4 separate regions of the Homo sapiens genome follow, and all the other regions are linked to region 1. The links are contacts of gene promoters, found by promoter capture Hi-C in human tissues and cell types (Jung and others, 2019). All regions are on one chromosome and are shown on one strand. Each heading gives the region's core, a stretch centred on a gene start or on the middle of the fragment in contact. The rest is flanking DNA. Distances are from core to core; before and after follow the strand shown. Region 1 holds the start of PTPRM (protein tyrosine phosphatase receptor type M). Region 2 overlaps PTPRM (protein tyrosine phosphatase receptor type M). Region 3 overlaps PTPRM (protein tyrosine phosphatase receptor type M). Region 4 has its middle 14 kb from the start of LRRC30.

Region 1 (2,943 bases), core at 426-2,925:
GAAAAAGAAAGCCCACCGCCCCCACTGCATGTGGACCTTAATGAAACTAATCTAATAAACACTAGAAAGAAGGTGTGCAAATGGGCCAGCATTTGCCGTCTATCCACCTGTGTCACCCAGGTAATAAAGGTCATCCTGGTTGTAAACCCCTGTGACAGCGTGCCGGGTTCGCCCCCACGCCGGACCCCCGACTCCGATCCACAGATCCTCTCCGTGAGGGGTTCCTCTGGGCTTAGAACGCCCCCGCGCGCGCGTGCAGGCACACACGCGCACACACTCACACGCTTGCTCGCACACCGCCAGTGCCTCTCCTTCCCACCTGGGACCCCCGGGCAGCCGGGCTGGATGAACAAGTTGCAGCTGGCCGCGGCGCTCCGCTAGGGGGACGAGGGTGGGGAGGGGGAGCCCAGCGGGGCGCAGGGCCGTGGCCAGGGCCTGGGGACCTGCCCGCTTCCCTCCGCGGCCGCCAAGCCCTACCGCTGGGACCGGCGAGGAACTCCCCCCAGCCTCTCCGCAGACGCTGCACGACCGCGGGGACCTCCCGGGGTCGCCAGCCGCGCCGGGCAGGGGGCGACAGGGAGGGCAGGGCACCGGGAGATCGCCGCCGCCGGAGCGGCCGCCAGTTCCCGGCGATCGCTGCGGGCGCAGCCGAACACCAGCGGCCTGGGCCCGGCCGCTGCTCGGGGTCGGCGGGGACCGCGCAGCGCCTACGCCAGGCGGCCCGGCGGCTGCAACTGGGAACTTCAAGCAAAGTTTTCTGCTGTTCCTTTTGCAGCCGGCCAGGGACTCAAGAGTGCAAGCCGCCCAACCTTGAGCACTAGCCCAGGCCGCGGAAGGACGGCGGCCGAGCTGGCAGTCCCGGCTGGGGAGCTCGCCCTCGGGGTCCGTCCGCTCCGCCCGCCCGAGGACTGGGTGCCTGCCAGCCCCACGGCCCCTCGCCCAGCGCCCGGCTCACAGGCAGAAGCGGTGTCCGGCCCGCCGCGCCCCCCGCCCGGCCCCGACGCCAGCCTTAGGGCTCTACCACCAGGGAGCTGTCGGCGTCCCGGGCGTCCCGCGCCGGCCCGCGCGCCTCGGGGGCGGCAGAGGCGGTCCCGCTTACCTGAGAACGTCTCGCCCGCCGCAGTTAGCAAAAGTCCGGCCAAAGTCGCCAGGCAAGTCCCAAGTCCCCTCATGGTGCTGAGTGCGGGCCGGGCCGCTCCCCGGCGGCGGTGGGTGGGCGCGCGAGGGCGGAGGGGGCCGGGAGCTTTGGTTCCGAGGCAGCGAGGAGAGACGGGTAAACAGCAGAGCGCTAAGCCAAGCCCCCAAAGTGCCAACAGTTGCAGAAGTCCGAACTCCAGCGGCTCCAGGGGCGCGGGCACAGGGTCCTGGGTCCTCCTCCCCTGTCCCTGGCCCCACTCGGCGTCTGGCGCCGCTGGCAGAGGGAGCGGAGGGCGAGCCCGCGGAGCCAAAATCTTCCCTCGGTTCCGGTTGCTGAGCTCGCCGCCTCTCCCCTTCCCCTGCCCGGGACCCGGGACCCGAGCTGCCGGCCGTGGCCGTGGCGGTGGCCGTGGCCGTGGCCGCGCGCGTTCCGCCCGCCGCCTCTCCACAGGCAGCCCCAAGCCCAGCCCCGGGCGGCGGCGCGCCGATGACCGAGCCCGCGCCGGCTGCGCGCGGGGCTCTTGCTCCCCGACTGACTGGCGGTGCCCCGCAGGCCGGCTGAAGGGAGCGCTCACGTCACGGCCGCCCGGCGCCGCCGCGGCCCGCTAGAGGGCGTGAGCGCCCGTGCCCCGCCGGCCCGCGCCCGAGCGCCTCCGGGAGCTCGGCTGGGGGCGGCCCCGCGGCCACAGCCACTACCGCCGCCGAAGCGGGCGTCAGCCGCGCGGGGAGGAGCGGCCACCGGGCTCCCCCCGCCCACCTCCTCGCCCCGGCCGCGTCTTCTATTTTGGTAGCTGGCTCTGGGGAGGGTGACTGTGGAAGAGGCTGCGCCGCCGCCAGAAGTTTGTCCCGGGTCACGAGCCGCGAGTAGTTTGTGAGCGCGGCCGGGCGGGACCAGCGGCCTGCGACCCCGCGGGCGCGGCCAGGCGGCTTCGAGCCTGGCGCCGGACGGCGATGTCACCGCACAGGGCCAGCTGCACCCGGAGTCGCCGGGCCTGCGCTGCTCGGCGGCTGCGGGAAAAGCGAGCCAGGAGATCGCTGAGGCTCCGGAGGGCTGCGAGCTTCTCTACGCCGCGGGCGGAGCGAAGTTGGCGGGCGCCGGGAGATGGCGCGGGAGCCGGGAGCGCCGAGCCCCGCGATCGCCAGCCCGCTCCCGGCCGGGCCCGCCGGGTACACGCCGCTGGCCCCGAGCACTGGCGCCCGGGAAGCAGGGCGCGCTTCTGCTGTTCTGCGTCCTCATCATGCCTCGGTGTCCCGTGTGGGCCCGAAGCGAGCCGCAGGCAGTACACGGAAGGCGGTGGTCACACCAAAACCAGGGTTTGGACATAACCCGTGGTTTCTGTATCTGGTGCAAAGTGCTGAGAAACAGGGGAGAAAGAGAAGTGGGGGGTGAATCAAGTAATGTCTTGAAATATTTTAGTTTTACGATTTTGGGTCTGAGTGAATTAAAAAAACCTTACAATGCTTCAGCAAAAAATAATTTTTTTATTTTAATTGTAAATTTTTTTGTAAGTGATCCTTCTATCTTCCAGGGAATAAGCACATTGAGCCAGCACCAACCAGACAGCTGTAAGCTCCTGGCCTAGCTAACTGAACGCAATAGAAGGCTTGGGAAGAGGTTAAATTAGGAACCAAAGTAACTGAGTGACAGGGTTCTAGCAATGATTCTGGCTAGAAGGCAAACCGGTGATACAGAGGCACCCAGGAGCTCTCCTGCACTTTTTCCGCAAGAGGGGTCCTCTGCTTAGTGCTCACTGCTTTCTAGTGCTTATAAACACGTAAAAAAATAAATGGATTCCACACTCATCT
Region 2 (3,101 bases), core at 322-2,821, 290 kb before region 1:
TGGGCATTACTCAAAACATTTTTTAATTTCCTCTGTTCAAACTGCTATCATAGTTGCATTCCATGTCTATGAATATGTATGTATAAAGTGTGACTATGCCTTGTTTATAAATCTTTGCAATCAAGACAGGTAACTATGGTTTTCAAGGACAGCATGATATAAGCAAGCAAAGATAAGAACAAAACAGGCTTCAGAAGCCTCTTCCATTCCCATGGAAAATAGAAGGGAATCTAGAATGCTGGATCATTAACTTCACTAATTACAAATCAGATATGGCTCAATGTTTTATAGGAAGGAGATGAAAAAGTCTAGTCCTTGTTGGGCCTTTTTCACATTGAATTATCTCATAATTAAACCAAGCTGATGAGCAAGTGTTATCATACCCATTTTCCAGAAGCTGAGAAAAAGCAACTTGTCCCAGATGACTGTTTGATTCCCAGGCACCTTCTGCTTTTTCTACTGTGACCTACTTGCTGTGGGATACTATTTTCAGCCACATTCCTGACAACGTCAAACATCTGAATTATGCCATTAATTCTCCTTACTCTGAATCTGTGTTCACAAAGATACACAAATGTCTCTCCATGTAGTTCATGTGCTAGCCAGAGGAAACAGTGTCTTCTCAGATGGAGGGCTCTATTTTTCCATTGCCAAATAATAAACTGGAATTTCATTTCATCTAAGTCTTTTGGGAGCTTAGTTACCAAGAAGCTCATCCACACTCCTTGTACTGACAAAAAGCTTACTTAGTTCTCACAAACTGCAAGGTGAGTTCAGTGCTATTAGTTCCATTTAACAAATGAAGAATTAAGATTTAGTAGAGGGTGGAAATGGAATTCAAAGGAAGGTCAGTTTCTGAGTCTTTGCAAATAGGATGGTACCACAGCCTTCTTTCTTCTTCCTTCTTTGTGTAGGTGGCATGTTCCATGGAAGTCACAAAGAGAAGGAGCCAAAAGCAGCTTTGTGGTGGGGAACAATCCCATCAGATAGAGGAGTGCTAAGTGGAGATGGGAATGAGGCACTTCCCAAGCCACAAGGCCCCCTGAGCCACAGGCCCATGCTGGTGTCTTTATGTGAGACCATGTCTCCTTAATCACTACATGCCAGTATGTCACATAATGTCTGGAATACTTCTCAGTCACACCCAGCTTTAAGTGGATACCCCCCTGCACAGCATTCTAATAATAACAATGTAAGAGTGTAGGTACACAGAAGGTTAGCAAGCAGCTGTTCTCCTCCACCAGGGGAGAAGGAGAAGAAAACACCTACATTATAGCATGAGTCACTCAAAATAGATATATTCAAGAATATCCTCATAGTAAATAGAGCGGTAAATTCTCCCCTGGAAGCCTTTAAATATAAAATGTTTATCTGCCTGGGGCGGTTGCTTGGCATTCTCATTTCTGAGGGTAGGAGATGCTACCTAACCTTCAAGGATATGCAGTAAAATGATAACTTATTTATAATTATTTGCTTGGAAACAAATCTGTCAAAGATCAAAAGTCTAGGTCGGCTGGATGAAGCAATAAGCAGTGAAGCTTCTCTTCCATACCCTTTATATAACAATGCATTTACACAGAAAACTTCTAGGTCATTAAAAATCCATTTTTAAAAACATATATCAGTTGTAAAAAAAAAAAAAAAAAACTCCTAACATTTCAAAAGTTTAAAAAGTAAAAATTAAGTCTTCCACTCTCTCAACCCTTTAATTTCATGCCTCAGAGGTGATCAACTGCTAACAATCTTGTGTGTGCACTTTCAGATACAAGATCCATCTTTAAATAGTATTTTAAGGTTAGGGAGCAAGCCAAAGAATTTCTGTTCTGCTACCTGCATTTTCAAGTACCTGCCAGTATCTTATACTACAAACTTTCCATCTGTAATGGAGTTTCAAGTAAAATGAAATTAGGCTCCATTTCATTCCACACTAAATTTTTCTGACAATCCCTGTCAAGATTTTACATAGAAAATTGACTTGATTCTTACATAAGTTAAGAACCTTTGCAGAAGTGTAAAGGGGTAATATACTAGATCCTCATTATTTCTGCTTTAGCTAAGAGAGGTAAGAAGTATGAGGTCAGAATTCCAAGTTCAGAGAACTCTTTCCCTTGTAGGCTCTTATTTCTTCTACATTTCAGCAATAAGAATCAGAGGTAACATGATAGAAGAAAGACAATTACTGGAAAATGGTAGACAACCACTTCTTCAAAAGCAACTATGTCCATCATTTCCTTTAGCTGAAGGAATTATTTTCCTTCATTCTCTTATGGTACATAAAAACTAATATTGCTGTTTAAATTTTCTGTTTTGTGAAACTTCAGGGGGAAATCCTGAAATGCATTCTAACAAATGGCCAATTCTGCAACTCTCAATTCAGCAGTCTAGGTCCAACAGATACAGAGAATTTTATGGCTCATTTTCTCTCCAACACCTGCTCTCATTAGCTCAGCTTCTTTGAATGAAAAGACAACCAGACTGAAAATATAATTCCACTGACTAACAATTTAGAAAATCAGTTTTCATTGAAGTTCAAAGCTGTAAACCTGATTAGAAAAAACTGCTCCCTGATTGAAGCTGTTTATCTTGGTGGACAACAGCAGTTCCAAAGAGAATCAGCTTGGTATAGAATATTATTTCAAGCTCTTTCAAGAATAGGTTGTGTTCACATTCTATTCCCCCTTTCCAAAGGCACAAGTATGTCTCTACCACTTCTAATCAATGGAGATGCTCTTAATAGCCAACAAATAACTGTTTGAGAAGAAGAGAAGATTCAGAAATCCAGTGCAATTTTCCTGATGCTCACATTTTTGATGCATGAGTGAAATACCAAAGAACAAGGCAAGGTGAGATTCTTACTCTTCCTGGTATGCTTTCATTTTTCCAGGTACTTCTGAAGCCACTGTACTCTGGGGTAAGACTTCTGCTAACAGCAGAGAAACAAACAGCCTTACTACCCATTCCAGACTTTACCTGAAGCTCCCAAGGGAGGACACCTAGCACCAACTCCACCTGCAAAAGGGAGACCAAGTCTCTTCTCTCCTACTTCAAGCTGAGCCCTACATTTACACTTCCTCAACTAAGTAACTCACATAAGGATAACA
Region 3 (2,993 bases), core at 38-2,537, 260 kb before region 1:
GTTGTTTTCTTTGGATAATATGATGGGAGTTACTTTTATTTTGTTTGATAAATTTCGGTATTTTCCATGATGAACAAATGGTACTTTCATTATTGGAAAATAAAGTAACAGTGTGAACTCTTTTATTTCATGGGAGTTTCATTTGTTATAACCATGAAATATTCAACATCTTTAATTTCTTTCTGCTTTTCAAGGAAACAACTGAGCTACACGATAAATGAAATAAACCACTTTTCTATGTCCAGTTCACATTTTCAAATTTAACAATGCTTGACATCCCAGGATAGCACAACTAATAAGTCAGCCATTCTTCATTATGATCAGAAACTTGTTTGAGTGGCAGTGCCAGTACTACTCAGCTTGCTGTACGGGAAGAGCAAGCCCTAGAAAGGCATGTTAATAGGGGACATTCCCAAAGCAAGGCTTACCATTTTGTGAATGTAGCTTCTGTTGAATTTAAATACTTCATCATATATAAGTTTTATGAAATATAAATCTCACATATGGAGATGAAGATGTGCTAGGACAGAAGTTTTCTTAGTCAATATGCAGCGTGTAGCTTTCTGCGAGGTAACACAGAGCAGGCTCACACCACCTAACAGAGCCTCACTCAGTGACACAGAGAGGTTCTGAACGCTGCTATTGTACCTGAGCTCTCGACCAATATCAGGTTGACGGGGATGCCATCCAATGAGGACAAGCAACAAGGTGCTCTGAGAGCCACTGTTAACACCAGACACATGTAAATGGCAATCCTATCTATCCTTATGGAATAAATATGGTGAGGATTAAATGAGTTAATATATGGAAAGCTTCTAGAACAATGCCAGGCACACAGGAAACACCAACTATGTCCCATTCGATATTATTCTAGAAAAACATAAGCTTCAAGACGTCAGGAATTTCCATCTGTTCTGCTTACTACCATCTCCCTAGCTCCTAGCATGCAGGTGATACTGAAAATATATTTCATGAATGAATAAATGCCAAGGTAAAAACAGAGGCAAACGCTTGGTCTGAGGGGCTTAGGGTGGTGCTTACTTCTAGGGGATGGGAGCCTCGGGGCTTGTATGTCAGGGATAACATAATGAGCTGCCAGCCCATGGCATCACAGGGATCAGCCAACCTCTATTCCTTGTAAATTAAGAGTCATTTTGGCCCAATTATCCACCTTCCAAACCTGTGTCTTCTCCTCCCTCACATCCTTTTATATACCTATCCTCCATCCCTCACAAACACCTGGCTATATCCTCAGCTTTTCAAAAACCTTCATTATACCGTTAGAGCAGAAGTTGCCAAACTTTCTCAGTTCATAGTGCTCTTACCTTTCAGTGATTTTTTTCATGGTACTCCTATGCAAAATCAACCTATCCATTCCATTTATTAAATAGCGAAGTCTAAGCAATCTCATAGTAGTCCTCTGCATGGTACCTAGCTGTGTTTCCCTTGAAAACGTGAACACTTACAACATGGTGTAGTTGTTCCAGTACTCCAGGGAGCCTTGGCCCACAGTTTGGGAACCAGGGCCTTAGCAATTTCCTCTTTCGGACAATTGCAACTAATTTGGAATGCTATTTAGTTCAGCCTCCTGGCTCCCGGCCACTTCTTCCTAGGGAATTTCCTCCTTTAATTGCTGGACAGAAATGCTGGTCCCAGTAGCACTGATGGCCCTGCACATGAAACGCAGCAAGCCTTGATGCTAGTTGAACTAAGAGAAAACCAATATCTCCAAATCTTAAAAACAGACAGACATGTTTAAGCATTTGGTGTAAATCCATGAAGAGAAGCTTAAGTCTGGAAAATACAATAGAGGTTCCATGCATCCTGGGAGCCCCAGCAAGCAGCTGACACCATGTTGAGTAGCGCTGCCTGCCCAGAGAGCCTCCCTGGGGCCAGAGTTCATGCACTGACATCCAGGGCACAATTCTGTTGTAAGTCAGCTTAGGCAAAGCATGCTGGGATGATGAGGGCTTTCTCGTTTTACCACATCCCAGAAGAAAACCATGTTTTAACCACAGTTTGGATGGTGTTTTGTTCCATTATTAAGGGCAAAGCAAAGCTTTTAATCTTAGTAACTGGACAGGAAAATAGAAAATACAACTATATTAAAAATGTACCTTGCTGATAGAAATAGTCTAGTAGTTACTAATAGGAAAAATAAGTAAATAGAAAAAGAAGAGAGAAGGAAACCCTTCAAGTTACAAGGGGAAAAAACGAGCAATAAAAGTAATTTTATAAAATGCTAAAAGATCTCTTCTTACAAATAAAGAAAATGCTACTGAGGAAAAAACACACACACACACACACAGGAAAATCCAACCACATCACCACGTCCACCTGCTCTTGGGCTGCCTGGTGCACCTGAGACCCCACGGAGTTGTTTCATGTGTCCCCACCATGACTGGTGCGCACTCTCCTGACTGATGTCACCCGCAGAACAGTGGGAGATCCTACTTCCTCTAGAGGCTTTCTCTGAACAGTGATGTCCCAAATGCAGCACAGGAAAGTGGGACTAACTCATAACAGAGTCCAGGTAATGCTCAGGCAAGAACAATGGTGCTCTGACCTTCGGGGTACTAGAAAGGGAGACCACAATGAGGCCCGGATGAAGACCAGGGATTTGTCTGTGAGATGACAGTGAAAGTGGCCTAGGAGTGGGGATGGAAGATATGCACGTTAGAGAGGGAAGGACAAGGGGGCACTCACTCCTTTGGCTCTTGTACAGCCAGTGCAAGGGGCCAATAAAGACAGATCCATCCAGTGAGCAGGTTGGGGCTTGGGGCCCCTTTTGTCCAAGTATATTAGTCAGGGTTCTCTAGAGGGACAGAACTAGTAGGATAGATGTACAGATGAAGGGGAGTTTATTAAGAAGTACTGACTCACACGATCACAAGGTGAAGTCCCACAATAGGCCATCTGCAAGCTGAGGAGCAAGGAAGCCAGTCCAAGTCCCAAAACCTCAAAAGCAGGGAAGCCGACCCAAGGGCCCCTGG
Region 4 (2,700 bases), core at 153-2,652, 320 kb after region 1:
CCAGGCGTGGTGGCAGGTGCCTGTAGTCCCAGCTACTCCGGAGGCTGAGGCAGGAGAATGGCATGAACCCGGGAGGCGGAGCTTGCAGTGAGCCAAGATCATGCTACTGCACTCCAGCCTGGGCGACAGAGCAAGACTCAGTCTCAAAAAAAAAAAAGAGTATGTAATGGAGATCTAGTAAGATTTAAATGGACCTGACTCATGGTAAGTACTCAACAACTATTACTTATACTTACATAATTGTCATTATTTAATCATTATTGTTATTATTTCTTCCACAAACCACTAACTCAGACATACATGTAGCTAAACTGCGGCTAGATGATGATGTCCTCTACCAAACAGTAATGAGATGATACTGCCAATGGTGGCCGTGCTGTCCTCAAGCTAATCACTTATTTATTGAACTCATGACTGGAGGTTTAATTATGCATGCACCCTTAGTGTTAAAGTTAGGTGATGAGTGCTTCATATGTTTATTCTTTGGTTCTCAGTACAGTACTTTTTAATGTAACATAACTTTGCACTAAAGGCACTCCTTAATCAGGTGTACACACCTGGCATTCGATTGATAAAATGAATTTCAACTAAGGAACAAATTAGAAATTAATGATTCTTAATAATTAGATATGAATATATTCAATAGAATGTATTAAGTGCCTAATGTATGCTAGGAAGGTTATATGCTGGGTAATGCAGCAGTGAGATAGGGTAGGTATGTTGCCTGTTGTCATGAGAGATACACATTACACAAGGTACACATCTATCTGTGTGTGTGTTTGTACACACATTTATATAATGAATTCAATTACATTTGATGGTACACACATACATATAGACACACATATATGTGTCATTTCAATTGTGGTTAAGTACTATGAAGGAAAAGTAAAAGGTTTTCTGAGAAGGTCTATTTCAGCTAAAACCTGAAGGGTGAGTGGGCTTTGGCCAGGCAGATCATTGCATGGAGAGGGAACCGTGTGTTTGAAGGTCCTGAGCTAGGCCAGTGGCCCATGGCTTCAGGAGCTAGAAGGCCAGTGTGTGTGTACATTCCTGAGAGAACAAAATGTTGTGCAGCAAATGAAGAAGTAGTTGGATGGAGCCAGGGTCTGCAAGGGCTGGTAGATCAAATGTAAGGATTTTTCTTGTATTGCAAGCACATATTAAAAGTCTTTAAGCACTGGTGGAACATGATCCAATGTGCATTTTTAAATACCTCTCAGCTCCTGTGTGGGGGATAGATTTAAAAGGGAGGCCCAGGGAAGAAAGTAGGGAGACCAGATTGAGGAGGCATGGTAGTGGCTTGGCCAAGGAGCAGCAGAAGAGACGGAGAAGAGGATTTTGGGGGTAAAGCCTCAGGATTGGGTGATAGGTAAGCTGAGCAGATTGAGTGAGGCAGATGGCTGGAATGAGTCTCAGGGTTCAGGCTAGATGTAAGTGCTTTTCACTGAGATGGAGAACAAGGGAGAAGGATCATGTTTGAGGGAGAAAGAAGAAGAAATCAATGGGCTGGTTATTGGCACCAGGTGAGCCTCTTGTTTCTGAAAGTGAGCACAAATGTTTTAAAAAGATATGTATGACAAAAAAGACAAATTTTAAGATTTGTTTGTTCTAGGTCTAGAGTCTGCAACTATTGTATGGGTATTAGCCTGGTAATATTAAGAGAAGAAAGAAATATAAATGTTTGGCCATCCTTTGACCTATGGAATTGTGCACAATGTGCAATTTTTTTTTTTTTTTGAGATAGTCTTGCTCTGTCACACAGGCTGAAGTGCAGTGGCGTGATCTTGGCTCACTGCAACCTCCGCCTCCCAGGTTCAAGCAATTCTCCTGCCTCAGCCTCCCAAGTAGCTGGGACTACAGACGTGCACCACCACGCCCGGCTAATTTTTGTATTTTTAGTAGAGACAGGGTTTCACCATGTTAGCCAGGATGGTCTCGAACTCCTGACCTCATTATCCGCCATCCTCGGCCTCCCAAAGTGCTGAGATTACAGGAATGAGCCACTACGCCCAGCCCCAATGTACAATTTTTTATTTCCTTTGGTATCAAACTAACACTTCTCTGCATTATACAGTATCATTACGTTATATAAAATTTTGAGTTTTAAAGACTTCAAGTAGTGTGATATTAACTAAGTCTTGATTTTGCAAAAAATTCAGAATAATGTCAATCCTCTAAGTTTAAAAATATTAAAAATTATAGTTTCAAAGCCGATAAACCCTGTGAATTCTGAATTGTGTTTATGCTACTTTCTTATGGCTGTGTCATTTTAACTAGTAAACAGAAACACCCATCATTGTTTTCTAGAATAGTGATGAACTATGACAATTTTGAATTATGTGAGATATAGAAGAATACATTTTTGCTTACAATGGTACTTCCTATCTGCAGAATTATAAAATTTTAGCTTAGAAATGGCCTTAACCAAGCCCCATATATGTAGCTTTATGCAATGTTATGCACCCAGGAGAATTAGTGAATCACATCCTTCCAAATATTTCACATATATTCTCAAATGTATTATTTTAAGAGTCTTCCTTCTCTTCCTTTTTGCCTCTTGTTTTCCCAAAGTGTAGTTTTAAAAGTAAATTGTTGGCAAGTTTGTAGGTAGTTTTTAAACTGCAGTGGTACGTGAGTAGAACAGCAAATATCAAATCAGAAATTATTCCTTACATTTCTATTCCCCCAAGGAAGAAC

What was found. Contacts are between HindIII fragments. The study calls those that stand out against the background at their distance.
Region 2: a fragment that was not itself captured here is called in contact with the fragment with the promoter of PTPRM in region 1 in 3 of the 25 tissues and cell types used here (heart left ventricle, lymphoblastoid cells and spleen).
Region 3: a contact is called between a fragment that was not itself captured here and the fragment with the promoter of PTPRM in region 1, in 4 of the 25 tissues and cell types used here (dorsolateral prefrontal cortex, heart left ventricle, mesenchymal stem cells and 1 more).
Region 4: a contact is called between a fragment that was not itself captured here and the fragment with the promoter of PTPRM in region 1, in 1 of the 25 tissues and cell types used here (H1 embryonic stem cells).

The regions. Positions count from the first base shown.
Region 1 is chr18:7,566,048-7,568,990 of GRCh38, reverse strand. It overlaps PTPRM (protein tyrosine phosphatase receptor type M), which reads right to left and starts at 1,675. Exons shown (of 33, transcript NM_001105244.2): 1 at 1,100-1,675. The coding sequence starts at 1,172. RefSeq lists a silencer at 1,625-1,994. The HindIII fragment of the contact is 7,623 bases long and covers 1-2,943 here.
Region 2 is chr18:7,853,278-7,856,378 of GRCh38, reverse strand. All of the region lies in intron 2 of PTPRM (protein tyrosine phosphatase receptor type M), which reads right to left. Among named protein-coding and RNA genes, the nearest start is that of PTPRM, 290 kb to the right of the region's middle. The HindIII fragment of the contact is 4,096 bases long and covers 1-3,101 here.
Region 3 is chr18:7,823,743-7,826,735 of GRCh38, reverse strand. The region is part of intron 2 of PTPRM (protein tyrosine phosphatase receptor type M); the gene reads right to left. Among named protein-coding and RNA genes, the nearest start is that of PTPRM, 260 kb to the right of the region's middle. The HindIII fragment of the contact is 4,051 bases long and covers 1-2,993 here.
Region 4 is chr18:7,244,158-7,246,857 of GRCh38, reverse strand. No RefSeq gene overlaps it. Among named protein-coding and RNA genes, the nearest start is that of LRRC30, 14 kb to the right of the region's middle. The HindIII fragment of the contact is 6,137 bases long and covers 1-2,700 here.